Regions from separate parts of the Homo sapiens genome. Here regions 2, 3, 4, 5, 6 and 7 are each linked to region 1. Evidence: promoter capture Hi-C in 16 types of primary human blood cells and fetal thymus (Javierre and others, 2016). All regions are on one chromosome and are shown on one strand. Each heading gives the region's core, a stretch centred on a gene start or on the middle of the fragment in contact. The rest is flanking DNA. Distances are from core to core; before and after follow the strand shown.

Region 1 (3,752 bases), core at 717-3,216:
AACTTTTTATCAGGAGTCATGTCACATCAGAAATAGTCTCACATTTTTCCAGACCAACCAGCTAACTATGGAAATGCAAATAAAAAGTAAGGATACCGGGCTGGGCGCGGTGGCTCACGTCTGTAATCCCAGCACTTTGGGAGGCTGAGGCGAGCAGATCACAAGGTCAGGAGTTCGAGACCAGCCTGGCCAATATGGTGAAACCCCATCTCTATTAAAAATAGAAAAATTAGCAGGGTGTGGTGGCATGTGCCTGTAGTCCCAGCTACTCGGGAGGCTGTGGCAGAAGAATTGCTTGAACCCGGGAGATGGAGGTTGCAGTGAGCTGAGATTGCGCCACTGCACTCCAGCCTGGGTGGCAGAGCCAGACTCCGTCTCAAAAAAAAAAAAAAAAAGATACTGTAGGCAGAGTATGAATACATTAACTTCATACTCCTCTCTTACCAGCTTCTAGCCACTTCTGTATTTTATGGTGCTGCCTATTTATAGTCTTATGACTATTTTTTTAAGTGAGAACCGTGCTATTTGCCTTTAGAAATAATTGTTCACCAAAAAATTCCCCCACAGTTCCTTCACATGGGTAAACAAAGTGCAAAAGGAAACCAAGGTTTGACACTTGGGCTTGAAAAAATTTTAAAAAGTAATATAAAATGGGTTAGATTCTAGGAGTTGAAACCATTTGGGGAAACTACAAGGGCTAATTCCAGGTGTTGGGTAGGAAATGTACAAAGTTAAGCTTGTGTTATCAAAGCAAGAAAGCATTCAAGGACTAATAGGGATACATGAAAGACACAGATGGCTTAATGTGGCTTCCACTGGCCACATTTGGGACAATTTGAGCATCAACAAGAATTATGATGTTAAAGGAGTATATTATATTGAATTAAAAAAAAACCTTAAATCAATAACTTTAAAAACACCTTGATTCCCATAGTGAAGCAAACACTAAAATGGAGGTGTGGAAAGAATGCCAGTTAATAAACATAAAAGGCATGATACTATTGCGGAATCACTTATAACTCCTAATGTAACAACAGATTCAGTGAAGGACTGTATCAAGGAGTTGGGGAACAGGTTATTCTTATGGACTCAAGGTATAATCCACAGATTGCTTACCAATTCCTAAGAGGAAAATGTACTATTAGAATGAAGAGATGTAGCCACCACCTTTACCAAGTGATCAAATTTAGCATTACTAATATAACTGAGTTATGCGTCCCCGTGAGTTGGCAACATCTCTTAGGTAGTATTGCAAAAGTGCTCAAACTGAATCTAATCATGAGGGAAACAAAATCTGACAAATCCAGAATGAGAGAGATTCTACAAGACAACTGGCCTAGGCTCATCACAACATGTAATGATTTAATAATTTAAAAAGGAGGGTGAAGGAGGCTGATCTGGATTAAAAGAGACAATAACTAATTATAGCTTATGAGTTGAAAAAATAAAACTGCTATAGAAATAATTTTGGGGACAATGGGGAAATTTGAATATGAACTGTATAATAAATGATTTTATGGACTTACTAATTTTCTTAGGTTTGATCATGTATTGCGGTTACACAGGAAAATGTTCTTATTCTTAGAACATGCATGCTAACATATTTGGGGGTGAAAAATCTGCAACTTACTTTCAAAGAATTCAGCAAAAATCATTGGGTGGGGCTGTGAATGTGGAGAGAAGAGACGGAGAGAAATCAAACCTGGCAAAATGTTAACAATGAGCTGAAGGACGGCTAAACGAAAGCTCATTGTACTATTTTTAAAACTTTTCTGTAGCTATAAGCCGTTTTTTCTGAGGAAGTCGAGGAGGGCGAATATCTTTCTGGAAAGGCCAGAGCAAATGCACGCAAGAGCTGAGAAAAGATTGGAAAACGCCTCTCAAAATAACAGTCCCGCCCTTCCCGGGACTCTTCCCTATAGGCTGTTCAAGTCACGTGGCGACTGTGGCCCCGCCCACAGCTCCCAGAGGCCTGCGCGTGCGGTCTGCAGTTCGGCCGCTTCCTCTTGGCGGGTGGGCTGCAGCTATGGAGGGCGAGCCTCCACCTGTGGAGGAGCGGCGGCGGCTGCAGGAGGAGCTGAACGAGTTCGTGGAGAGCGGCTGCCGGACGTTGGAGGAGGTGACCGCGTCCCTGGGCTGGGACCTAGATAGTCTGGATCCCGGGGAAGAGGAGGCGGCGGAGGTGAGGAGCGCGGCCGCGGGGCCCTTTCGGGGACTATCGGCCCGGGGTCTTCTCTGGAAGAAGGGAGATCCGCACTGGCAGCCGCGGAGGGAAGGGCGAGGAGTCCTCGTCCGTGTGCAGAGCCGCGATGGGCGCCTGGGACCCGAGGGGCGCCGGGGGCCCTGGAGCAACCCTGACGTCCCTGGGTTCCGGGCTGGGGCGCGCGAGGAACTCCCGAAGGCTCCACATCGACCTCCAGTGCGGCGCTCCTCCCGCGCAACTTCGAGTTTAAAGAAAACCGGGGGCCGGGCGCGGTGGCGCACGCCTGTAATCCTAGCACTTTGAGAGGCCAAGGCGGGAGGATCCCTTGAGCCCAGGAGTTCCAGACTAGCCTGGGCAACATGGTGAAACCTCTTCTCTACCAAAAGTACAAAAATTAGCCGGGTGTGGTGGTGTGAGCCTGTGGCCCCAGCTATTTGGGAGGCTGGGGTGGAAGGATAGCTTGAGCCCAGGAGGTCGAGGCTGCAGTGAGCCGAGATCGCTCCACTGCATTCCAGCCTGGGCGACAGAGCAAGACCCTGTCTCAAAAAACAAACAAACAAAATCCAGGAAGGTGTGTTGAGTGAGGAGGGAATGGCAGATTTGGTATTTATTTAGAAAATAAGTGAACGTGTCTCAGAGCGCTGCAGAGGGATTGGCGGTTTGCATTGTCATCTGTCATACGGATTCCGCAGTTGCACCAGATTCGGTGTCAGGAGAGCTGGGAGTTTGCCAGTTCGCCTTTCTGTGCCTTAAAATTGGACACTTCTGACTGGGACAGCACCAATTCTAGGATTATTAAAGGTTGTCACCAAGAGGTGGTAACTGGCAACTCCTGTGGACATTAGAATTGCTTTTTTAAAAATGTAGGCAAGTGTATTTAGAGTGAACATTCGTGATTTTTGTTTTTTTGTGGGGTATTTTCGGTGGAATGAGAGGAAGGGAAGTGCTCCAATGTGGGGTAATTCATTATCTTTACTATTACTTCTGGGTTTACCATGCTGTGATAATTTCTCCTGGGTTTAAGTTACATGACTGATTCCTCAGAGGCATTTAAAATATATTTGATTTCTGTATATACCATTCATTGTTTATTGTATTAAAAGCACAGAGGAAATTAAAAAATCTTTAATATTCATTTAGAGGGGTATTTGAAGCTGGGAATTCCACTGAGTGGGGCTTACCAGACCCTTCCATACATTGTTTACTCAGCATTGCGGTAACATTGGATTCCTTGTATTAACGTTTAAATAGCACTTTGTTTGCCACTTACATTACTTCATTTAATACTCAAAATAACCCTATGAGGTAGGTATCTTTGGCCACATTTTATAGACGAGGAAAGGAACACAGAAGTGATAATTTGTCGAAGGATACACTGCTAGTAAATGGCAGTTAGGATTTCCGCCGGTGTTTTAGTACTGAAATTTAGTGAACAACAGTCCTAGTTGTCATCTGTTCCTAGTTGTCACCTAGTTCCTAGTCCTCACAGAGCTAGTCCTAGTTGTCACCTAGTTCCTAGTCCTAGTTGTCACCTAGTTCCTAGTCCTCA
Region 2 (3,752 bases), core at 940-3,439, 480 kb before region 1:
GAAAGGCTAGCTCCTGAATCAGAGACAAAGTGAGTAAATAAAGTAGCATTCCCCACAGGGCCCTTCCTCTGCCCTCATTGGAACACATTACAACTTAGAAACACAAGACACCTATTCTATGATGGCAATGTGAACTATTATTCCTGTCTAGAGACCTGCCCATCTCCTCCACGACTGGCCTGTCTTCAAAAAAGCATTTGATAATACATTTGGGGGCGGCGGGGTTGGGGGAGGCTCAGAAAAATGCAACCGCTAAAATTTCTCTGGATGGAGTTTTCTTCAGTAAACAGTAGACCCTGGGAAACATAACAGGTTCCGAAAACTTAATTTTGATGACTGAAAGTCAGAGAAACAGCCAGCTGAATCAGCTCCTTCTTGGGCAGTGGTTTAGCCTACTTATCTCATATCAGACCTAAGGGTCCAGCTGCTTTTCCTTGGTTCTAAAGAGTTCTATTCTGGCCAGGACCCATCCCGAGACAGACACTTCTGTCTGCAGCCCTGAAAACTAGAGGTCAATGGAAGGGCTCAAATTAAAGGCCCACAGTTGGGCTTACAACTCTCCATGGTGTTCAAGCCTTCTCAGAGGAGCTGGTGTGGTGGAGCCAGGGTCAAAGGTCATAGTAAATAGAAAGTAGCCAGCTTTCTGCCTGCATAACATCATCTTGCCTAACCAGACTCAAACGCTTAATTCTACTGTAGTATTCTTTGGACATTCTTCTTTAGAACTACGGGGGCGGGGGGGGGGGGGCGTGTTTATTTTCAACAACCACAATCATCCTTATCTTTCTGAAGATGTTTCCAAAGGCTGAGAACAGACCCCTTTCAGAACCTCGGTAGGAGAAGTATTAACAGTTGGAAACATGTCAGCTGCTTTATGGAGGAAGCACAGCCCAGGCCTGGTTTCTCTGGGCTCCGTGATAACTTGGGGCAAGGCAGCCAGTGCGAAGCGTGGTGGCAGGAGCTGGAGAGATGGAGAGCGGCTCGGAGAAGGGCCCCTGCTTTTCAGAGTTGAAACAGGAGCCCTCTGAGAGAAAGAGATACTGCGTGTGGCTTCTCTGAAGCCTTGGAGGGCGACGTGGATGACACAGCATCAGCCATTCCATCGCGGGGTGGGGACACAGTGGCGGCAGGAACCGTCCTCAGCCCCTGGCGGCCACGGCAGTTCCCCGCTGAAGCATCCTTTGTGGGGTGTGGGTAAGGGAGGGGGACCAAAGTCGGGTCGGAGTTGAGTTTGTTAGACGGCGAGCACACTCAGGGCGGCAGCCCGAGTAAGAAGGATGGCCCCGGGAGAGAAACGGCTCGAAGCTAGGGGCGGGGTGAAGCGCCTGCTCCTTAATCTCCTGCCCCATCATCCACTCGCCCCACCTGGATGCAGAGCGAGGACCGCGTGGAAAGGAAACGGCGCGGGCGGGGCTCCCCCTCGCAGATGCCTCGGAGACCCAGAGGGGCGGCGTCAGGCCAGGGCCCCGAGCCCTACGCCCCCCATCCCCCCAACTCCAGCGCCTCTGAGGTGCCCCTCTCGCAATTCCGAGGCATCACCGTGTCTCCCCCGCCTCCGTTAAAATAGTGAAACTGCGGAGTGAAGTGATGGAAAGCCGGGGGCGGGGAGTCGCCCGCGGCGAGGGGCTGCAGGGGAGGGGGCGCGGTGGCCGAATAAGGTGGCCCGCGAGCAACGGGACGATTGGGATCGCAGCCAGTCGCGGCCTCCCGGACCCTTCCCCTCGGGCAGCCCGGCCCTCCCATGGCCCGGGGCGCCTTGGGAGGGCGTAGGGCAAACCTGGGGCTGCGGTGGGGGGTGGGGAGGGGACTCCACCTCCATCCATCCCGGGATGGCAACTGCGGTCACCCTGCTAAAGTCGGGGCGGGGGCGGCGGTCCTCCCCCTCACCCCCCCCAGTCCGAGCGCCGCCGCCGCCGCCGCCGCCGCCGCCGCGGCCGCTCAGTAACACGTCCCCAGGAGACTCGCAGGAGCAACACGTGATGTGTCTACTTATCAGGGTGAGAGGGGGAGAGCGAGACTCCGAGCGTGCGGGCGAGGAAGCTGGGCGGGGGGCCGAGACGGGGGCCGGGACGACGGCTGGGGCGCCGGGGTCGCCAGCTCCTCGCCCACCTCCCTCCCTGTGGGAGAAGAGGAGGAGGGGAAGTGACTGCGGAGTTGATGAACTTTGCACATCCAGAAACGCCATTTTGATTCCTTTTCCGGAACAAGTTTGCATCTCTCCTCGGTCTCTCCCTGAAGCCCACCGGTCCCCAACGCATCATGCCAGGGAGCCAAGCGTCCTGCCCGGCCGTAAGTACGTGCCCCGGATTCCGACTCGCGGTACGCCGGCGGCAGCGAGAAGTCTGGGGCACAGCCGGAGCGACCTTTTAAAGAACTTTGGGGATGGGGAGGGTGAAGTCTGCAGAGCGCGTTGTACTTTTGAAACTCGGTGTGTCCCGGAGCCGGGGACCCGCACGCCCCACTCCGCGCAGCGTGCGCTCGGGCCGGCGGGGCGGCCAGGGATGAGCGGGGCAGCCCTCTCCCCTCGGGCTGCGCGCCGGGCCATTCCTCCTCCTCCTCCTCCTCCTCCCCTTCCTCCGCTCTTTTCCCTTTCCCGAGCCGCCGGCTCTGCCAACCAGCTCCCAGCGCGAGCCGCCGCAGCGCCCCGCCAGCAGGACCTGATGCGCATCCATATTAGCCGTCCGAGCGCAGGAATCCGGCCCGACCCGCGCCGCCGAGTTTATTTTTAACCAGCACCGCCGGGACTCGGATGGTGCGCGCACCGCCGGCCAGAAACATCTTCCCAGCGCTGCTCTCCATCTTCCGCCCTCTCTCCCTCGACATCCTCCCCCCCATGTGGGAGGGGAAACTTTTCTCCTACATACTTTCGAGTCCTTCTCGGGCCGGGAAGCGCGGAGATGACGGCGCCCGCCCTCCCGCCGCCGCCCTAAGGTATCCGGGGGTGCCTGCCCGGGGTGCTCGCGCGGGGGTGCCTGCTCGGGGCTGCTCGGTGGGAGCATCCGCCGCGCCCTGCTCTGCGGACTTTGAACCTCCCGGGCGGACGGCGCCGGCCGGGAGGGGGCCGCGGGCAGCCCCGCGCCCTCGCGGGTTCCCGGCTGGCGGTCGTGGTCACGCCGACCACCGCCCCGGGGGGCCTGGGGAGGAGGGGACCGGGCCCTAGCCGTGCGGGCACGTATTGTTCCCTCGCCCTTCCGTTGGCGGGGTGAGTGTTTTCGTGGGAGCCCTCGGTGTGGAGCTAGCCTGCCTCGCGGGCGGGGGGGGTGGGGGGCTCGGCGCCGTCACGAGCACAGGAAGGAGGCCGGGAGCATCCGAGGCGGGGCCGGCCGCCGGGGCCCGCTCCGCCGCCCAGCTGTGGAGCGCGCTCGGAAACTTTTGTCCGCCGCCCGCTGGACCAGTTTTTCACGAGTTCTGGGGCTTCCCTTCCTCCTCCCATCCCGGCCCCCGGCGTCTAGCTGGGTGGGGGGAGGGGGCCTGTTGCTGCCCCCCCCGCCCCCAACTTCCCGCACAAGCCTTGGGCCGGGCCCCCCGCGCCCCCTCCCCGCTCGCGGTCTCTTAGGAAACTGCGACCTTAATGGTTGCTAAGGAGCAGGGGAGGTCCTTCCCGTCGCCGACCCCCTCCCTGGGAAGCGGCGTGTTTTCTGGACCGGGCCAAGGGCGCGTCGAGGATGTGACCTGCTCCGCGGCCGCGCGTGAGTGCGGGGCGCGTCGGCCGAGCCCACCGATGGGCGAGGCCACCTTTCTCTCCGGGCGGG
Region 3 (3,752 bases), core at 390-2,889, 420 kb after region 1:
AACTTAAAATAAAAAATGACTGATCACATTAGGAAACTCGTCACCATAAACTTGTTTCAGCAAAAACAAGCAACAAACTATAAATCTGGATCCACAAAAAATACTGAAATTACCACGTACAGAATGTAAAATAAGTACTTTTAATATGTTTAAAGAAAAGAAAAAGAAGGAATAATGGAACCATCCCAGACAACCCAGGAAAGTTTAAGAAAGAACCAAACAACTCTTTTGAAAATAAAAAAAATAATAACTATAATTAACAACAGATGGGTAAAATAGGTTAGAGATAGAGTGAAGACAGTATTAATGAAATAGATTTAAAGAAATTATCCAGAATTCAACACCTAGAGACAGAGAGATGGGAAATATAAAACAGGGATTAAGAGATATGGAGAGGACAGTGAGATCATAAAACAGAAGTCTTAATTTTATTTCCTAAAGGAGAGAATAGAGAGAATGAGGGAGATACAATATTCAAAGAGACAGTAGCTGGGAATTTTTCAGAATTTATGAAAAGTACCAATTCTCAGATTCAGGAATCTCAATCAATCCCAACAGGACAATGAAAAGAAATATACAGCTAAACATACTGTAGCATGGCCACATTTGACTGTAGAACACCAAAGATAAAGATCTTAAATATGACCTGAGAAAGAAGGCAGATTAGCTACAAATACTGATCAGACTGACAACTGTCATTTCAGAAGCAGCAATGGAAGCAAGAAGACAGTAGAATATTATTTGAGAAAACAGCTGTCAACCTATAATCGTATACCTAGCTAACTTTCAAGGATAATAAAATAGCAAACTTCTAGGTAAATCTACATAAACACTGACTATACAAAATAACTACTTTTGTAGTAAAATCGAGATAGAACTAGAATTCTAGACAACAATTTGTAAGTTGAAGAGATAAATCAGACTTTGTACAAAAATCTCTAAAGAATAGGAAGAGAGTAAAGATGTTAATTTTAGATTCTGTTAACTACGCAAGTTAAATTTCCTACTAAGCACTTCATTAAAAGTTAATTTTTACATATAAATAAAATACATATCAAAACTGATTTGGAAACTGGGAAATGTTTAACTTTGAAAGCAGCAGAAGAAAAGTAGATGGAAAAATGAAACAAAACAAACTCAAGCTGAAAGAAGTCAAGAAACAGAAAAGGTGGGACAAAAAGCACAAAATAAGATGATACAAATAAATCTTAATATATCAGTAACTTTGACAAATGTAAATGGATTGAACTCCTTAGTTGACAAATGATCAGAAAGAAAGAAAAACATCCAGCCACACAGTTTTTTTTTTTTTTAAGACAGAGTCTCGCTCTGTAACCAAGGCTGGAGTGCAGTGGCGCAATCTCGGCTCACTGCAACCTCTGCCTCCTGGGCTCAAGCAATTCTCCTGCCTCAGCCTCCTGAGTAGCTGGGACTACAGGTGCACACCACCACGCCCAGCTAATTTTTGTATTTTTAGTAGAGATGGGATTTCACCATGTTGGCCAGGATGGTCTCAATCTCCTGACCTCGTGATCTGCCCGCCTCGCCCTCCCAAAGTGCTGGGATTACAGGCGTGAGCCACCGTCCCCGGCCCCAGTCACACAGTTTTTAAAGGGCATATCTAAAACATAACAGCAAGGTTTAACAGAAGGATGAAAAAAGATATATCCTATAAATCCAGCTAGCTGGCATAATCCATATAAATATAATATATAGTTTATGTATTTTTATATTTATGTATATATTTATAATTATTTATTTATAACAAGACTTCAAAATATATAAAAATATATAAAACTAAAATTGACAGAATTACAGGGAGAAATTGGTAAGTTCACTAGAATAGAAAATTTCAACACATCTCAGAGTCTGAGAGATCAAGTAGAAGACAAAAGAATAGTAAAATGGAAAAAATTTGAACTACAAAATTAACAACTTTGGTCTAATGGACATCCAACAACTAAAAAACAAGCATACTTTTCAAGCAATCATGAAACATTTACAAAAACAGGTTATAATCTAGGTCATAAAGCAAATCTCAACAAATATTAACAGATCAGTCTTAACATGTACCTATTTTCTGTCCACAATTCAAATTCAATTAAAACAGGAATCAATAAACACAGAATTTAAAAATATACACGCTAGGAAATGGGAAAAAAAAGCCTCATACATATGTTAGTCGAGAAAGAAATCATAATTAAAAATTAAAAATACATAGAACTTAACAAATCTTTCTATGGTGCTTTAAAATTATAAAACATTATTTCATTTGATCATTGCAATAATCCTATGAGCTACATAGAACCCACAATATCTCTGCTCAACAGCACAAACACAGCAGAAATGTTACAAACTGGCTAGGCACAGTGGCTCATGCCTGTAATCCCAGCACTTTGGGAGGCTGAAGTGGGCAGATCACTTGAGGTCAAGAGTTCGAGACCAGCCTGGCCAACATGGTGAAACCCCTTCTCTACTAAAAATATAAAAATTAGCTGGGCATGGTTGTACATGCCTGTAATATCAGCTACTCAGGAGGCTGAGGAACAAGAATTGCTTGAACCCAGGAGGCAAAGTTTGCAGTGAGCCGAGATCGCGCCACTGCACTCCAGCCTGGGTGACACAGTGAGACTCTGTCGCGCAAAAAAAAAAAAAAAAAAGGAAAGAAATGTTACAAATTATGTAGTTATTAAAATTGTTTTTTACATATAAATAAAATATATATAAAAAGTGATTTGGCAACTAGGAAACAGAAGCAAAAGCGTTCACCACTAAAAATATCAAAAGGAAGGTAAATAAACCAACTCTTATAGAAGCTATGTCGAATATCAAAAGGAAGGTAAATAAACCAACTCTTATAGAAGCTATGTTGAATAGTTAAAAATGTTACAAGAAACAATTGAGTATCTTAATGTCTAAAGCTCAAAAAGCCCATCAATTCATTTTGGTTTAGGAAGTCCCTTAGGTATTTATGGAATAATAAACAAACTTATAGGGTAAAGTATTTATTATTCACATGAGATGAACACAAACTATCAGAAATCTTTGCTATACAAGTTGGGTAGCCACAGTTAAGAATATATTCCCTTCACACACACAATCTTAATTTCTTGGTTACAGCATTCGTTCAATGATGTGTTGGCAATTAATCGCATTCCAAAAAGTGTCTACGGTACAAAGGGAATTTTCATTTAAGGCTCCCCTCCCTTTTCATGTGTGGGATATTTTTGGAAGTATTTCTTTTTCCATCCACTGAATTAAGAAAATTCCAACATGCCTTGGTGTCAGCAAGTGCGCTTTTTAGTCCAGGTACCAGCAAATGATTGATGAGCCTGTCAAGCCTACAGTAGCGGATAGAGAAAGTTGGCAGAAGTTCAGTGTTATTGAAAAAAATCTCAAATACTTATTTCATCTCCTCTATTAACTTTAATCACATTTTCAACATGCAGCCAAGAATGAAGCTTTGACAGTAAGCCATACATTTACACAGGCAGGCATTGTCAATTTTCTGCAGTCGCCACACTGAGATAACACAAGAGAGCTGGATATTTTCTTTCTTGTGCCTTTCTTTACTAAAGAGCAATAAAAAATATGTGAAAGATTTATCCATACCTCAAATTTGTTTACCATAAATCTCGAAATTATTGCATTTACTTTTGCTTGGTTTATGGCAAATAAAAAATCAACTTAGTTCTTCAGTTAGATTTTTTTTTTGTTGAGATGGAGTCTCACTCTGTCACCCAAGCTGGAGT
Region 4 (3,752 bases), core at 738-3,237, 340 kb before region 1:
AGAGATTAAACCTTCTTTTAAAAATTACCAGTCGGGCGTGGTGGCGCATGCCTGTAATCCTAGCCCTTTTAGAGGCCGAGGAAGGTGGATCACCTGAGGTCAGGAGTTCTGAGACCAGCCTGGCCAACATGGTGAAACCCTGTCTCCACTAAAAATACAAAAATTAGCTGGGCATGGTGGCTCACACCTGTAATCCCAGCTACTTGGGAGGCTGAGACAGGAGAATCGCCTGAACCCAGGAGGCAGAGGTTACGGTGAGCTGAGACTGCACCACTGCACTCCAGCCCGGGTGACAGAGCAAGACTCCATCTCAAAAAAAAAAAAAAAAATTACTTACAAAGGCCAGCCACAGTTGCTTATGCCTATAACCTCAGCACTTTGGGAGGCCAAGGCAGGAGGACCCCTTGAGCCCAGGAGTTCGAGACCAGCCTGGGCAACATAGGGAGACCCTGACTCTAGGGAGGGAAATTACCCACAAAGCCAGCAAACAAATTGAGCGTTCTGTATTTTTATTGTAGAGTTTATACCAATATCCATTCTATAGATGCTCTCTGTTGAAATGATTCAAGAAAAACGAACATCTAGTTTTTCCTTGGAATGTGGCCCAGACATTGGTGTGCATATCCCAGGACTCATATTCTTTAAGCTTTTGGATAATTTTGCAAAATCATTTCTTCTTTAAAATGTTATATTCACACCATAATATTTCTTTCTGAAACCTCTTGAGATACCCAAACAGTGGCTGCCAAAAAGTGCAGTCAGTGTAAAACTAATGAAATGAAATGATGTAAGTAGCCGCGTTATGCAGATGGCTGTGGGTAAAGCCTAAAGCCCCAAGCAGGTGTGAACAGTAGGTACTGTCTCCTCAGACCTCAGGACGGGGCAGAACCAGCTCCTTACCCCAGCCCTCCTGACCGCCTTGATGGCAAATCATCAAGCATGTGACATTGAGGAGGTGTGATGGATGCAGGTTGACATTGTAGTTACACCTGATCACGTCAAGTGAGAATCCAGGTTAGGTGCGTGAATCTGCTGGCTCAAGGACTGCAATCACATCTGGCCTATTGAGGGAGGGGCATCTCGTACTTGTGCCATAAAACAATGACTTTCATCCACCCAATTATCAGAGGAACTTGAATCCCTGCAGTAATAAATCAGACAGTGGCCGGGCACGGTGGCTCACGCCTGTAATCCCAGCACTTTGGGAGGCTGAGGTGGGTAGATCGCCTGAGGTCAGGAGTTCGAGACCAGCCTGGCGAACATGATGAAACCCCATCTCTACTAAAAATACAAAAATCAGCTGGGCGTGGTGGTGGGCGCCTGTAATCCCAGCTCTTGGGAGGCTGAGGCAGGAGAATTGCTTGAACCCGGGAGGTGGAGGTTGCAGTGAGTGGAGATCACACCATTGCACTCCAGCCTGGGCGACAAGGCGAAACTCCGTCTTGAAAAAATAATAAAAACTAAATCAGACATAGGATCTGCAGCTAAATAATAGGTCCCACCAGCTTCCAATGTACTGTCGTAATGCATAATTTTAAGAAGTTATTAAGTCTTCTTTCAACCTTAGTAAAGAGAAGGCCTTTTGACACTGTTTGATGTGAATATTGCAGCCGTGCCATCCCTTAAAAGGACTGTTGAAAACTGATAGGCTTTCCACATACAGTTTTACTGGGTGGAATGGACAGATAGGAACAAATCAAGAGGCAGGAAGTCAGGGTAGGTGAGATGCCTGGAACCCAGAACCCCTTGTCTTCACAGGCACCCACAGCCCTTCACAGTCCGCTCCCCTCACTGTGTGCTGTTGCCAAGCCTGGCATCAAGGGTGCCCTTCCTTTGAAAGATTCCACCACCCCTGGGAGGCTGACAGCTAGGAAGCCTACAAGCTTGCCTGCGCCCCCTTGGGTCTCTGCAGCCTCCACCTGGAGATGAGCGTCAGGCAAGAGTGTGCATACCATACACACACAACGCAGGCTTGGGGTCGTTTCCTGTGAAACTCATCAAGACCATGCTTTGGAGGATTAGGGGTAGGGGTGGTCCTGTGTATGTTGCATGTTTGTATGATCTCTTTGCACTGGAAAAATAACTTATAACTCAAGCTTCCTCAACTTCCCTAGCGCTGCGAGTCTCTGGAATGCACCCCTCTCCTATCTCGCAGCCCCTGTCTGCCCTGCCTGAGTCACTCACACCTTCCTGGGGGCGGGGGCAGTGGAAGCCAGGGGTTCAGGGGCACAGCCAGCCCTGGGAACACACCTGAGGTGATGTGGAGGCTGCTTTTGCCTTTCTTCACGTCCCCAGGGTCATCTTGGTCCTCCTGGGGGATGTAACAGGTGGTGAGGATTTGGGCCGAAAGAAGTCCTCACTGGTTTGGGGTTCAGGCTGCTGGCGTGGGTCTAGCCCATTCCCGGCGACATCCCTGGCATGGGCGTACCTGGTGGTGCCCCTCTGAGCCCTCCCCGCTGTGCTTGCCCCACAGACAGTCAGTCGGATGCGGAGACTGCAGCCGCCGCGGGCGAAGTGCTAGACCTCACCTCACGGGACAGAGAGCAGCCGTCGGAGGGCGCCACTGAGCTCCGCCAGGTCGCAGGGGATGCGCCTGTGGAGCAGGCCACGGCGGAAACGGCCTCGCCGGTGCACCGGGAAGAGCACGGGCGTGGGGAGAGCCATGAGCCGGAGGAGGAGCATGGCACTGAGGAGAGCACTGGGGACGCCGACGGCGCGGAAGAGGACGCGTCGAGCAACCAGAGCCTGGACCTGGACTTCGCCACCAAGCTCATGGACTTCAAGCTGGCGGAGGGCGACGGCGAGGCAGGCGCCGGGGGCGCGGCCTCGCAGGAGCAGAAGCTCGCCTGCGACACCTGTGGGAAGAGCTTCAAGTTCCTGGGCACCCTGAGCCGCCACCGGAAGGCGCACGGCCGCCAGGAGCCCAAGGACGAGAAGGGAGATGGCGCCAGCACTGCAGAGGAGGGGCCCCAGCCCGCCCCTGAACAGGAGGAGAAGCCCCCCGAGACCCCGGCAGAGGTGGTGGAGTCGGCCCCGGGTGCCGGGGAGGCCCCGGCGGAAAAGCTCGCGGAGGAGACGGAGGGCCCCTCCGACGGGGAGAGCGCGGCCGAGAAAAGGTCCTCAGAGAAGAGCGACGATGACAAGAAACCAAAGACAGACTCCCCCAAAAGCGTGGCCAGCAAGGCAGACAAGAGGAAGAAGGTCTGCAGCGTGTGCAACAAGCGGTTCTGGTCGCTGCAGGACCTGACCCGGCACATGCGCTCCCACACAGGTAACCAGGGCAGGCCAGGTCCCCGGCCCAACAAGAGGAGGCGAGCCGGGCACCTCTCCTAGGAGCTCCCCTGAAGCGGCGCTGGAGGCCACCGAGAGAACGTTTGCTTACGTTGCCGGTGTGCCCTTTAAGCCCGTGAACTAGGAGTTTTAAGGAGTTGTACTCTCAGCCCTTGAAGACGGTGCAGGCCTCCTGCAGCCAGGCAGGAGAGGGTCCTTGGCCGTTGTGTTTTTGAGAACGCTGTGATCCGCCTTTAGCTCTGCTGCCTCCGCCTCCCCATCTGTAGAGTGGGGGTAACAGCTGCCCTGTTTCATAGAGGTATCTAGGAGAGGGTGCTTGTGCTGGGCATTTGGGCCACTTAGTCCTGTCTAGTCCTGTGGCCTGGACGACAGGCACTGCCCCAGGCCGCTGTGGGGCAGGCACCCTGGGTGATCCATTAGGGTCAGGAGGGCCTTTTCCTTTCTTAGCCGTGCAGTTCGGC
Region 5 (3,752 bases), core at 327-2,826, 330 kb before region 1:
GGGGCTGCCTCCAGGAGGAGAAGAAAGACTTGTGGGTCCACTGCAGACATCCAGGTGGAGATGTCTGGAGCCCAGGGGTCGGGTAAGAGCTACAGCCAGGTTGGGGTTATTGTGGGAGGAGCCGTAGGAGTGAATGAGATCAGGAAAGGTGGCCGGGGTAGACCTAGGACCTAGGGACCTAGGAAAGAGACAGACACGCTGGGGAAGAAGCGTCAGAGGACAGAGGGTGAGACGCTTGAAAAGGAAGTGGGCGAGAACAGTGTTGCCTAAAAAGAGGGAGCCCAGTTCCCTGAAGGTGAGGGTGAAGACAGGCCATTGGGCTGAGACGATGGGCAAAGGGCAGGGTGTGGGCAGAGCTGGTTTGGGACCCAGAGCAGTGGAAGGGCAGAGCAGCCCTTGCCGAGACCAAGGGACAGCAGGGCTGAATGACCGCAATGCAGCACCCGCTTCGCTTTGCAAATAAAATGCGGACTGCGCGAGAAAGCCTGGCTTTTAGCGTCCATGCGTGTCCAGGAACAGCGACCAGGGCAAGTGCTTGAGTGCGCCAGGCTGGGCGAGGCAGGGAGGGACTGAGGGCTGGGTCCGGGGGAGAGGAGTGGCCAGGGAGGAGGGGCGACCCAAAGGCCTCCGGTGATGCGCTGACAGAAGGTAAAAACAAGGAACAAAGCAAAACCACACACAGGACGGCAGCGCGGAGTCCGGGCCCTGCCCTCTGCAGCAGCGCAGCCCGGGGACTCTGGGGCTCTCCCTGCTGCCTGTGGAATTTCCAGGCCAGCGCATCTGATTGGCCTGGCCTGGGGCAGTGGGTGGGGATTTGGATGTTTCCAGAGAAGGGAAGATGGCGGTGAGACAGCCGCTCGGCAGCTCCAGAGGGGTCGATCCCGCGACAGGGGAAGGGGGCGTGGGCGTCACATGGCAGCGCTGAGACTTGAGTGCTGGAACAGCCCAGCGAGGAAGGTCCCAAAGACAGCTCTTTTCACCAGAGACAGGCCGTGCGTTTGCGGTGCGGGCTCCACCCGCAGTTCTGCTTCAGGTAGAAAAGGGATGAGGGTGCCGGGCCAGCTTGACCCGGTTTCCGCAGGGGCAGAAGCACTTCTTACCTTCGGCCTGCAGAGCCCCTCAAGCAACAGGGAACCACATTCTCCTGCCCTTGGAAAAAGTTGACCCGCTTCACAGTGAAGCCAGAGAGGCGAGGTGGGGGCGGCGGGGGGATTTGGATGGGACTTCCAGACGCCTTTCTTCTTCCCAGTGCCTACCTAGGGATGGGGACGCTAGGACAGCTGAAGCTGGCACATATCTGATCACTGTTCCTCAAGCACCTCTTTGTCCATGCACCCTCCCTGCCCAACACCTCCAATGGCCTCTGAGGCTTGGAGAATGACATCCAAGCTCTGCTTCCCAAACAGGCCCAAGCCCACCCTCTGCCTCCCAACTCATCCGACCATGACCACCATCTGTCACCCTTTGCAGCCACGCCCTGTGGTGACCACGCCCACAGACGGCCCTGGTGACCTCGCCGACAGATGGGCACGACCTTGAATGGCTCTGCTTTTGATAGTCACGCCCCTTGTAGCCATGTCCTGTGATGGCCACACCCACCAATGAGCATGCCCTCAGGTGACCACTCTCAGACACCCTGGGATCCAGCTGCCCTCACACCCCCGGGGCATGCCTGGGCACACCTGTCCTCTCTTTGGCCCTCCCCTAAAAAGCCCTCCAAATCCTAAATCCTTCTTCCAAATCCTGTTCTGCTGCTTCAGTCTCACCACCTCCTTGAGGCCCCCTGTGACTACCCCAGCTCTCTGGTGTTCACTCGCTTGGTTCCTACGATACATTGGAGCACATTTGCCTTTTTAAAAATAAGCTGAGCTGTCTCCACAGCTAGATTTTCAGATCCCGAAGGATAGGATGGAGGCAATTATTCTTTTTTGTGTACCATCCAAAACTTATCCCAGCACCAAATACCTTTTAGCTATTCAGTCTATGTCTCTTTTTTTTTGAAATGGAGTTTTTGTTCTGTTGCCCGGGCTGGAGTGCAATGGCATGATCTCAGCTCACTGCAACCTCCGCCTCCTGGGTTCAAGCGATTCTCCTGCCTCAGCCTTCCGAGTAGCTGAGATTACAAGCACCCGCCGCCACACCCAGCTAATTTTTTGTAATTTTAGTAGAGATGGGGTTTCACCATGTTGGCCAGGCTGGTCTTGAACTCTTGAGCTCAAGTGATCCACCCGCCTCAGCCTTCCAAAGTGCCGGGATTACAGGCGTGAGCCAACGGGCCCGGCCTGGCTCCCGAGAGCTTTCTAATGTGCAAGGAGGGCTGGGACTGGCTGATCTAAGGGTACCCTGGGAGTGCGATAGTGTGGTCAGCTTATGGGATTTGGAGCCAAACGGCCCCAGTCCAAGCCCTCACCTCACTCTCTGTGTGCGATCCAGCAGCCCTGGGCCTCAGTCATCTTCATCTCCCATATGGGTTTAAAATGCCCACTGCCCAGAACACACAGTGCCTACAGAGCTGCAGATGAGTCGAGCCCCTAAAGCGATAGCCCCCAAGCCTCCCTCAGAACCTAAGGGCTACACTGAGATAGACCCTCAGTCTTCTATACCCAGGGACATGTGGGGACAATGCAACACTCTCAAAAGAGGTGGCTCAAACAATGTCAACCGTAGTCATTTTATAGTGCTGGGAAAAGAATAGCCTTAATTTTACATCTGATTATAGAGGGAAGGATTCATAGTGTCCCTAAATTGACCTGTCTAAATATTTCCACATAATATGCACAATTGTCATCTGCAGGCACAAACGTTTCCTTTTCTTTTCTTCCCTTTTTTTTTTTTTTTTGAGACTGAGTTTCACTCTTGTTGCCCAGGCTGGAGTGCAGTGGCGCCATCTCGGCTCACCACAACCTCCGCCTCCCGGGTTCAAGGGATCTCCTGCCTCAGTCTCCCGAGTAGCTGGGATTACAGGCATGCACCACCACGCCCAGCTTTTTAGTAGAGATGGGGTTTCTCCATGTTGGTCAGGCTGGTCTCAACTCCTGACCTCAGGTGATCCACCTGCCTCAGCCTCCCAAAGTCCTGGGAATACAGGCGTGAGCCACCGCGCTCAGCCAAATGTTTCCTTTTCTTTTTTTCTTCCTTTCTTTTTTCTTTTTCTTTCTTTTTTTTTTTTTTTTTTTTTTTTTTTGAGATGGAGTGTCGTTCTTGTTGCCCAGGCTGGAGTGCAATGGTACAATCTCAGCTTACTGCAACCTCTGCCTCCTGGGTTCAAGTGATTCTCCTGCCTCAGCCTCCCAAGTTGCTGGGATTACAGGCGCCTGCCACTACGCCTGGCTAATTTTGGTTATTTTTAGTAGAGATGGAGTTTCGTCATGTTAGCTAGGCTGGTCTCGAACTCCTGACCTCAGGTGATCCACCAGCCTCGGCCTTCCAAAGTGCTGGGATTACAGGCGTGAGCCACCTTGCCTGGCCCAAACGTTTCCTTTTCTAAGAGGCCGTGGGGTGTCCTGGATCTGGGCAAAAAGGGCACTTCAGGGCGCGGGGCCCCACGAGGCGATGCCCTTGTTGGCCTGTCTTGGTATTGCTGCCCACCTGAGCCGGGGGAGTGGGCCGTAAACTCGCAATATTCCTCCACCCTGCTGCCCACCACAGGAATGCTTGCCTGTGAAAGTCATGGGTCCCCTTTGTGTCCCAGAGTTGTTGAACAAGATCCTGGTATACACCATCATCACACCACATGCCGGGAAGGCCGGAGG
Region 6 (3,752 bases), core at 1-2,500, 310 kb before region 1:
CCATTTCCACTTCTCAAGGTGGAGCAGTCTGATCCATAACCCTGCAAGTTCCCAGCCAGAGATGCACGCATTTGTGAACAGGACACACAAACCTGTGTCCAGCTCTGCCACTTAACGGTTGTGGAATTTCTGGCAAGTTAATTTAACCTGTGTTCAATTTCCTTATTTGCAAAATGGAGATACACCTACTTCACAGTGTGATAAATAATTCACATGAAACACCTACCACGTGTGTCAGGTCCTGTTTTAAGACTTGGTGAGCTGGTGACAAAATTCTTGCTGTCATAAGCTTACATTCACAAGGGGTGATGGGCAATGGAAGGACAAGGTAACTTCTGTGTGTGTGTGTGTGTGTGTGTGTGTGTGTGAGAGAGAGAGAGAGAGAGAGAGAGAGAGTCTGTCTCGCTCTGTCGCCCAGGCTGAGAGACAGAGAGACTTGCTCTGTCGCCCAGGCTGCAGTGCAGTGGCATGATCTCGGCTCACTGCAACCTCTGCCTCCCGGGTTCAAGTGATTCTCCTGCCTCAGCTTTCCAAGTAGCTGGGATTACAGGTGCGCGCCACACCTGGCTAATTTTTGTATTTTTAGTAGACACAGGGTTTCACCATGTTGGCCAGGTTGGTCTCGAACTCCTGACCTCAAGTGATCTGCCCACCTCAGCCTCCCAAAGTGCTGGGATTACAGGTGTGAGCCACTGCGGCCAGCCCAAGGTAACTTCTGATAGTGGTGAAGATAATGAGAACAGAGCAGGGTGTGTGGGGCCTTCCATGAGGGGAGTTTTCAGGAAGACTAAGAGCAGGGAAGATGGGGGCTGAGACCTGGGCAGAGGGGATTACTGCCAAGGCCCTGATCCTGGACAAGCCTGGCAGGGTAGAAGATGAGGAGGTGGCTGGCCAGGAAGCCTGGAGGGCAGCACAGGAAGGGGCAAGGCAGGGAGGGCGAGATACTGGAGAGCCCTGCAGGCAGTGGTGGAGCACTTGTGCTCACCTAGATGCCAGTGGAAGCCAGAGGAGAGTTTCCAGAAGAGAAGAGTCAGGATCTGATAGAGTGGCTTGGACTCTTGTGGGCATAAAGCCCGAGAGGCAAGGGGGTGGGGCAGGAGTGGCTGCACTGAGCACTGGCCTGGCACCAACTCGGCAGCAGAGAGGAGCTCATGTTTTTACAAACAGCAAAGAGAAAGGCTGAGTCCCTGAAAAGGAGAAATACTTTCAAGGGTTTTCTATTAAGAATCTATCTTGGGGCCGGGTGCGGTGGCTCACGCCTGTAATCCCAGCACTTTGGGGGGCCAAGGTGGGTGGATCACGAGGTCAGGAGATCGAGACCATCCTGGCTAACACGGTGAAACCCCGTCTCTACTAAAAATACAAAAAATTAGGCGGGTGTGGTGGCGGGCACCTGTAGTCCCAGCTACTCGGGAGGCTGAGACAGGAGAATGGGGTGAACCCGGGAGGCGGAGCTTGCAGTGAACCGAGATCACGCCACTGCACTCCAGCCTGGATGACAGAGCAAGACTCTGTGTCAAAAAAACAAAAACAAAAAAAGACTCTTATCTTGGGCTGGGCGCGGTGGCTCACACCTGTAATCCCAGCACTTTGGGAGGCCTAGGCAGGTGGATCATCTGAGGTTGGGAGTTCAAAACCAGCCTGACCAACATGGTGAAACCCCGTCTCTATTAAAAATACAAAAATTAGCTGGGCGTGGTGGCACATTCCTGTAATACCAGCTACTAAGGAAGCTGAGGCAGAATAATCGCTTGAACCCGGGAGGCGGAGGTTGCAGTGAGCCAAGATTGCGCCATTGCACTCCAGCTGCGCAACAGAGTGAGACACCGTTTAAAAAAAAAAAAAAAAGAATATCTTGATTTTCTTTCACTATGTAGTGACAATGCATCCAAGTTTTAAAAAGTGGCTCCGTTTCTTTTGGGGCCACAAATAAGCTATCCACAACCACTGGATTTATTATACTCATTGTAGGAGGCTCAGATAAATTTCACATTTGCATTTATTGCTTCCATTATAAAATATAGGCTCATTACAAACATTCTGAAGAAGAAAAAAAAAGTCCACTATCCTAACCAAAAACGGCTTTAGCATTTTGGTGTATTTCTCTTCAGACTTTGGATTAATCCAAAGTTTAATACTGAATGTTTCAAGCATTGCAGAGAAGACGTAATGCTGGTTCTTACTGCCCTAATATATTTTTTCCTAACTCCCCAAGCTTGTTATGCTCTAGTATTTTTTATTCTTCAAAGCATTTTTTCCTCTCAGCAGAAAAAGCTAAAAACATTATTATCTGGTAACAAAGACTGATTCTCCAGAGTTTGCACAGCCTCTAATTAAAAGTTACTTTTTCTATGAAGAACACTTTAATTCTACTGCTTAGAATACAATCTTGAAGGGAAAGAAATCTTAGGTGCTACTGACTTACTGGCTGGGTATACAGATGAGAAAATTACATCAAAGATCCATCTCGGCTTCCTTAGAAATGTTTAATAAGCGATCAGAGTATGCAGTCTGTGCAATTATTGGGAATGGAAAGTCAGTATGGGAGTGTGGATGGGGTAGACCTTACTTACTCATATACCTGCGTGAGGGGGAGTGTCTTTATGATCATCATCTGAAAAGCCAACTAGCTGACAGCCCAAGAGTGCCTGTAAAACCAATCTTAAATCACCTTTATTCTAAAACATCACTGAAATGTCTAAAAATGTGTGAACTTTTTTTTTTTTGAGACGGAAGCACCCAGGCTGAAGTGCAGTGGCGTGATCTCAGCTTACTGCAACCTCTGCCTCCCGGGTTCAAGTGATTCTCCTGCCTCAGCCTCATGAGTAGCTGGGATTACAGGCGCGTGCCACCACGCCCAGCTAATTTTTGTATTTTTAGTAGAGACGAGGTTTCACCATATTGGTCAAGGTAGTCTTGAACTCCTGACCTTGTGATCCATCCACCTCAGCCTCCCAAAGTGCTGGGATTACAGGCGTGAGCCACCGTGCCCGGCCAAACTTTTAAATAATTTCCAGGAGGACATTCCGATCAAAATTGTGATTTTTTTTCTTTTCTTTTTTTGCTTCTATTTTGGATTCCTCGTGCGTCTTGAGACCAAGCAGGAATATGCACTGGTACTTTAGAAAACATTTCATGTTGCACACAAATACTTTCATGATCAGCTTTAATTTAAGGGACATGTAAATAAAAAGATGCATTTGACAGGACAGCAGACTAGTTCAAGCAGGAGGTTAGACCAGTAACAACAACCAAGAAAGCAAAGTGCTCGTTTCCATCTTGGCTTTACCACACTTACAAACTGATACCCAAATAACAGAAATGTTTCTCAAAGCTGCACAAGAATTTTAAGGATTCATGACCCCACTTTCATTAAATAGTCCCAGAAGATAGCTAAATAACATTTTCAGATAGAACCTCACACTGCATAAGTTTCATAACAAACAAACCTAAGATATGCTGACAGAAATCACATTGAGTTTGCAAGCACTCAAATAGAAAACCCAAGACCTCCGGCAACAAATTAGAAAATATGAACAGAAATATTTTAAACCACAAGTATTTCATCCCAACTAAATTCCAATTTCTTCAATGTTCTCTGAGTTGTTAGATTTCAAAGTGAAGAGAACTGAAATCTCTTTTTATTCATAGCAGAGCCAAAACTGGAAGTCACTTATTAAATACCTGTGTACAAAACACCATACTTGGGGCTATATGCGATTTCAGGTTGGATAAACGAGTCATGTTGAATG
Region 7 (3,752 bases), core at 586-3,085, 260 kb before region 1:
TGATTGGGAACCACTGAAGGGCTTTATGCAACGGAGGGGCATGAAAATATTTTGCTTTTGAAAGATCACTCTGTCTACTCTATGGAGGATGGCATGAAGGGGACCAAAACTGGAGGCAGAAACAATAATTAGGAGGTGAGTGCAACAGGTCATATGAGAAACGACAGGGGCTTGAAGGAGTAGCAGTGGGGATGGTGTGAAGGAGCCCTACAAGATTAGAGGGAGGGGTTTCCAATTATAGCACCAGCTATGACAGGAGACGGAAGAGCCCTCATCTGAAGACAGAGGGGAAGGCTAGGTTGCACAGTATGGAAATGTGACTTCAGGAACTCCTATTAAATCTTGTGTTATTGTCAAATTACATGGAAATGTAAGATTCTTTATCATGATCATCAAGGTGACCTACCATGGTCATGGACTTCGGATGATTTTCTAAGCTTTTTGATCTGTAAGAAATAGAAAGAAAATAATGTAAAAAGGAGGAAGGGGGGACTGAAATAGTGAACATGGTGAGCAAGTTGCCATTATTTAGCATATTTTCCCCTCACTTTCAAGGAGAAATCGTCATTTAAGATAGAACTATGAGACCCTCAGAGATTAAGATCAAGCTTTTTGGTATATAACATGTGAATCATTCTCAGTGCATTTAAATAAAAACAATGAGGCAGGTTGCGGTGGCTCACACCTGTAATCCCAGCACTTTGGGAGGCCCAGGTGGGTGGATCACTTGAGGTCAGGAGTTCAAGACCAGCCCTGCCAACATGGTGAAACCCTGTCTCTACCAAAAATACAAAGATTACCTGGGCATGGTGGCACGCACCTGTAAACCCAGCTACTCACAAGGCTGAGGCGGAGAATTGCTTGAGCCTGGGAGGTGGAGGCTGCAGTTAGCTAAGATCGCGCCATTGCACTGCAGCCTGGGTAGCAGAGTGAGACTTCATCTCAAATAAAAAAATACATAAAATAAAATAACGATGAGGCACACTCTCACTACATTTAACATTCTCATAGATTTACTTAGGATACGATTCTGACTTGAAAACTTAATGAATTTCCTTGAAAGTCATGAAGAACTAGAGGCAAAAATAAAACATCTGAGGCTATTCAGATACTCGCTTTTGTATCCTTATTTCCCACTATTTCCACTACTGAAGACAACTGGCAAAAGCAATGCCATAATTTTGAGAGGCTGCAGAGTAAGCTGAAGCTTGTTTGAGTGCCGAATATACTGAGATCAATTGGGCCAGTCATCACAGGCTTCACAGAGGGTGGTGGCTGAAAGCTGATGTAGGTCTGGAGTTTTCTAACAAATGTCCTCTTGGCTGGAAAGGGCTTTGAGAGCTCTTCTGCCCATCTCACCCCCTGGCTTCTAGGCCAGTCTAAATCTATATAAATGGGCCTAGACTCCATTGTGAAAATAGGCCAAATATAAGTAAACAGAGGTCTGAACTGGTGAAACACATGTAAATTCATATTTAAATTTTCTTATTTTAAAATAAGCCTAGGAAAAAAATTCCATTGTTTCTCTCAGCAACTCAGAGAAGATCCATCTTCAGTATAAATTAGCATTTACTGAGCATCTGTGGTATGCCAAGGATCAGATCACATTTTTTCATTTTGGGGAAAAAGTCATAGTTAACCTATCACTTGCAAATGCTAGTTTAAATCTGCCAAGGGTTTTCTATTTTCTTTCTCTCTTTCTTTTTTTACATCTTTAATGAAATGACCTTGGAAATAACGTACATTTCCATGACACCAACACTATAGTTTTTGGGGTCACGGTAAGATACACAGAATTACATCTGTAATTAATATGACTGCCAACATGTCAAGCAGTGGTTTATCACATGGCAAACAAAATCAAGAAAGCAACCATCAAACAAAAGAGACCCGTAAGTCTGGACAAGGCAAATCCCAGGACAGCATATGAGAACAGCTGCTACTTTAGTGCAGGGTTTCTGGCATAACCAATGATAAGGCTACCAAAGACTGTTCCAATACCAGCAGCAGAACCAGCCACTCCTAATGTTGCAGTGCCTGCACCGTTACATTTCACACCAGTCTCAATGTCTCTGCTGATTGCCCTGGTTTGAAACTCTTTGGTTTAGCTGAGACACACCATTCTGGGCCCCATTAAATACCACAGAGCCCTCTCCAGGTCTGTATGCAACTCTACGCTGTTTAAGATAGAACTTCAGAGCGGGGGTGCAGGCGAGCTTGGCATAGGCAAACATCTTAAACTCTTCGAGGTGGTGCAGCTGGAGGACTTGGGTGACAGGAGACTTGGGCTCCTCTCCCGCTTCCTCTCCTCCTGGGAAGTGGCAGTGGCAGCAGTGGCAGCAGAGGTTGAAGGAATGGGCCTCCGATTTTCAAAACAGTTGTATTTGCAAATGGTATGCTGAACAAACATGACTTATGACAAAACCAAAATGCAACTTTAATTTTGGTCTTCCATTTCTACTTTAAGCTTTTTGCACTCAGAGAAGCTTTTCCTTTGCCCTTCCTTGGGTGAATACACAGCAGGGCCAATGCTTCTTTTGCTTACTCTAAAGTAACAGTCTTCACTGTGAGGCATAAACAGTCTCAATTCATTAGGTATACTGTACTGTCTTAATATTAATCAATCCTTTAATCTTCACTCAAAAGCAGGGCTTCTCCTCCCCATCTATCAGTTCAGGTCTGTAGCTGATGGACACCACTGTCTTTGGAGGCCAGTTTCCCCTTTTTGCTCATTTCCCTCTCCATTTGTAGGAGGAGAGCAAAGGCCACAGGACAGCTCATACTTGGCTGGGTGGCTTCAGAGTCTCAGCTTGGCAATTGGCTAATGCTGATTCTTTCTCTTTGGAGCTTGCCGTTGCTGGGGATCTCTGTCCTGCAGTTCCCAGGACCTACGCGGAGGCATTTCTCCTCTGGGTGATCACTCGATACTCTATCAGCCCCGAAGAATCTGGCATTCTCTTCTAGTTTCTTGCTGCTTCCAGGCCTCCTTGGGCAGAGCTGAAGATAACTCAACTCTCAACTGCATGGTTCTTAAGGGATTTTCACACCCATTCTTTGTCTCAACAAGCTCAGAGAGAAAAGCTATCCAACACAGCCCCTCTGCTGAGCAGCCACAGCTTGCCTTAGTTTTCTTAGGCATGAATGAATCACCAGTCCTCTGTGTTTCCCAACTTTTAGGGAACACGTTTCAAAGCTCTTTAGGTGATTCCCTGGAAACTCCTCATAAGGCTTTAGGTAAAAGAGGTAGAATTACCTGGGAGACAGGAACTCATGACACGACAGATTCGAAGAAATCCTTCTCCAATCTTCCCTACTCTCCATACTTTTATATCTTGGATCTGGCCAAGAGATAGGAGTCATGGAAGGGGTTCTCTGAAATCATTTATTTCGGAAACTCTGCACATGGGAAAAACTCACTCTCACTTTGGGAACTGGTAACAGTGTTATTAGCACCTAAGGAACTGGGCTAGAAAGAGTCTCATTTTAACATACTGCTGTGTTCTTTTTTTTTTCTTTTCTTTTCTTGAGATGGAGTTTTTGCCCTGTTGCCCAGGCTGTAGTGCAGTGGCACGATCTCAGCTCACTGCAACCTCTGCCTCCCGGGTTCAAGCGATTCTCCTGCCTCAGCCTCCTGAGTAGCTGGGATTACAGGTGCCCACCACCATGCCTGGCTAATTTTTGTATTTTTAGTAGAGACAGGGTTTCACCATGTTGGCCAGGCTAGTCTTGAACTCTTGACCTCAAGTGATTCA

What was found. Contacts are between HindIII fragments. The CHiCAGO score rates a contact against its expected background, and 5 or more counts as called.
Region 2: a contact is called between the fragment with the promoter of RREB1 here and the fragment with the promoter of SNRNP48 in region 1, in 1 of 17 cell types (total CD8 T cells). The highest score is 6.3, in total CD8 T cells.
Region 3: a contact is called between a fragment that was not itself captured here and the fragment with the promoter of SNRNP48 in region 1, in 1 of 17 cell types (M2 macrophages). The highest score is 5.3, in M2 macrophages.
Region 4: a fragment that was not itself captured here is called in contact with the fragment with the promoter of SNRNP48 in region 1 in 2 of 17 cell types (total CD8 T cells and naive B cells); the score reaches 6.0 in total CD8 T cells.
Region 5: a contact is called between a fragment that was not itself captured here and the fragment with the promoter of SNRNP48 in region 1, in 11 of 17 cell types (M0 macrophages, non-activated CD4 T cells, activated CD4 T cells and 8 more). The highest score is 8.2, in M0 macrophages.
Region 6: a fragment that was not itself captured here is called in contact with the fragment with the promoter of SNRNP48 in region 1 in 15 of 17 cell types (total CD8 T cells, naive B cells, total B cells and 12 more); the score reaches 13.2 in total CD8 T cells.
Region 7: a contact is called between a fragment that was not itself captured here and the fragment with the promoter of SNRNP48 in region 1, in 2 of 17 cell types (M1 macrophages and M0 macrophages). The highest score is 7.1, in M1 macrophages.

What each region holds. Positions count from the first base shown.
Region 1 is chr6:7,588,232-7,591,983 of GRCh38, forward strand. SNRNP48 (small nuclear ribonucleoprotein U11/U12 subunit 48) reads left to right here and starts at 1,967. Exons shown (of 9, transcript NM_152551.4): 1 at 1,967-2,182. The coding sequence starts at 2,027. RefSeq lists enhancers at 1,724-2,463, 2,042-2,191. The HindIII fragment of the contact is 5,411 bases long and covers 735-3,752 here.
Region 2 is chr6:7,105,772-7,109,523 of GRCh38, forward strand. RREB1 (ras responsive element binding protein 1) reads left to right here and starts at 2,190. Exons shown (of 13, transcript NM_001003699.4): 1 at 2,190-2,289. RefSeq lists an enhancer at 999-1,058 and silencers at 1,409-1,888, 1,949-2,168, 2,959-3,448, 3,469-3,558. The HindIII fragment of the contact is 7,744 bases long and covers 1-3,752 here.
Region 3 is chr6:8,010,575-8,014,326 of GRCh38, forward strand. The region is part of intron 4 of BLOC1S5-TXNDC5 (BLOC1S5-TXNDC5 readthrough (NMD candidate)); the gene reads right to left. It overlaps BLOC1S5 (biogenesis of lysosomal organelles complex 1 subunit 5), which reads right to left. Exons shown (of 5, transcript NM_201280.3): 5 at 2,993-3,752. EEF1E1-BLOC1S5 (EEF1E1-BLOC1S5 readthrough (NMD candidate)) reads right to left here. Exons shown (of 7, transcript NR_037618.1): 7 at 2,993-3,752. Among named protein-coding and RNA genes, the nearest start is that of BLOC1S5, 52 kb to the right of the region's middle. RefSeq lists a silencer at 1,477-1,685. The HindIII fragment of the contact is 3,640 bases long and covers 1-3,459 here.
Region 4 is chr6:7,243,951-7,247,702 of GRCh38, forward strand. RREB1 (ras responsive element binding protein 1) reads left to right here. Exons shown (of 13, transcript NM_001003699.4): 12 at 2,474-3,271. Among named protein-coding and RNA genes, the nearest start is that of SSR1, 67 kb to the right of the region's middle. The HindIII fragment of the contact is 213 bases long and covers 1,882-2,094 here.
Region 5 is chr6:7,260,656-7,264,407 of GRCh38, forward strand. No RefSeq gene overlaps it. Among named protein-coding and RNA genes, the nearest start is that of SSR1, 51 kb to the right of the region's middle. RefSeq lists enhancers at 423-1,214, 781-900, 971-1,110, 1,215-2,006 and silencers at 451-580, 1,704-1,879. The HindIII fragment of the contact is 4,464 bases long and covers 1-3,752 here.
Region 6 is chr6:7,277,994-7,281,745 of GRCh38, forward strand. It overlaps SSR1 (signal sequence receptor subunit 1), which reads right to left. Exons shown (of 8, transcript NM_003144.5): 8 at 3,150-3,752. Among named protein-coding and RNA genes, the nearest start is that of SSR1, 33 kb to the right of the region's middle. RefSeq lists a silencer at 3,749-3,752. The HindIII fragment of the contact is 1,926 bases long and covers 288-2,213 here.
Region 7 is chr6:7,329,443-7,333,194 of GRCh38, forward strand. CAGE1 (cancer antigen 1) reads right to left here. Exons shown (of 14, transcript NM_001170692.2): 13 at 407-446. Among named protein-coding and RNA genes, the nearest start is that of SSR1, 18 kb to the left of the region's middle. The HindIII fragment of the contact is 1,260 bases long and covers 1,206-2,465 here.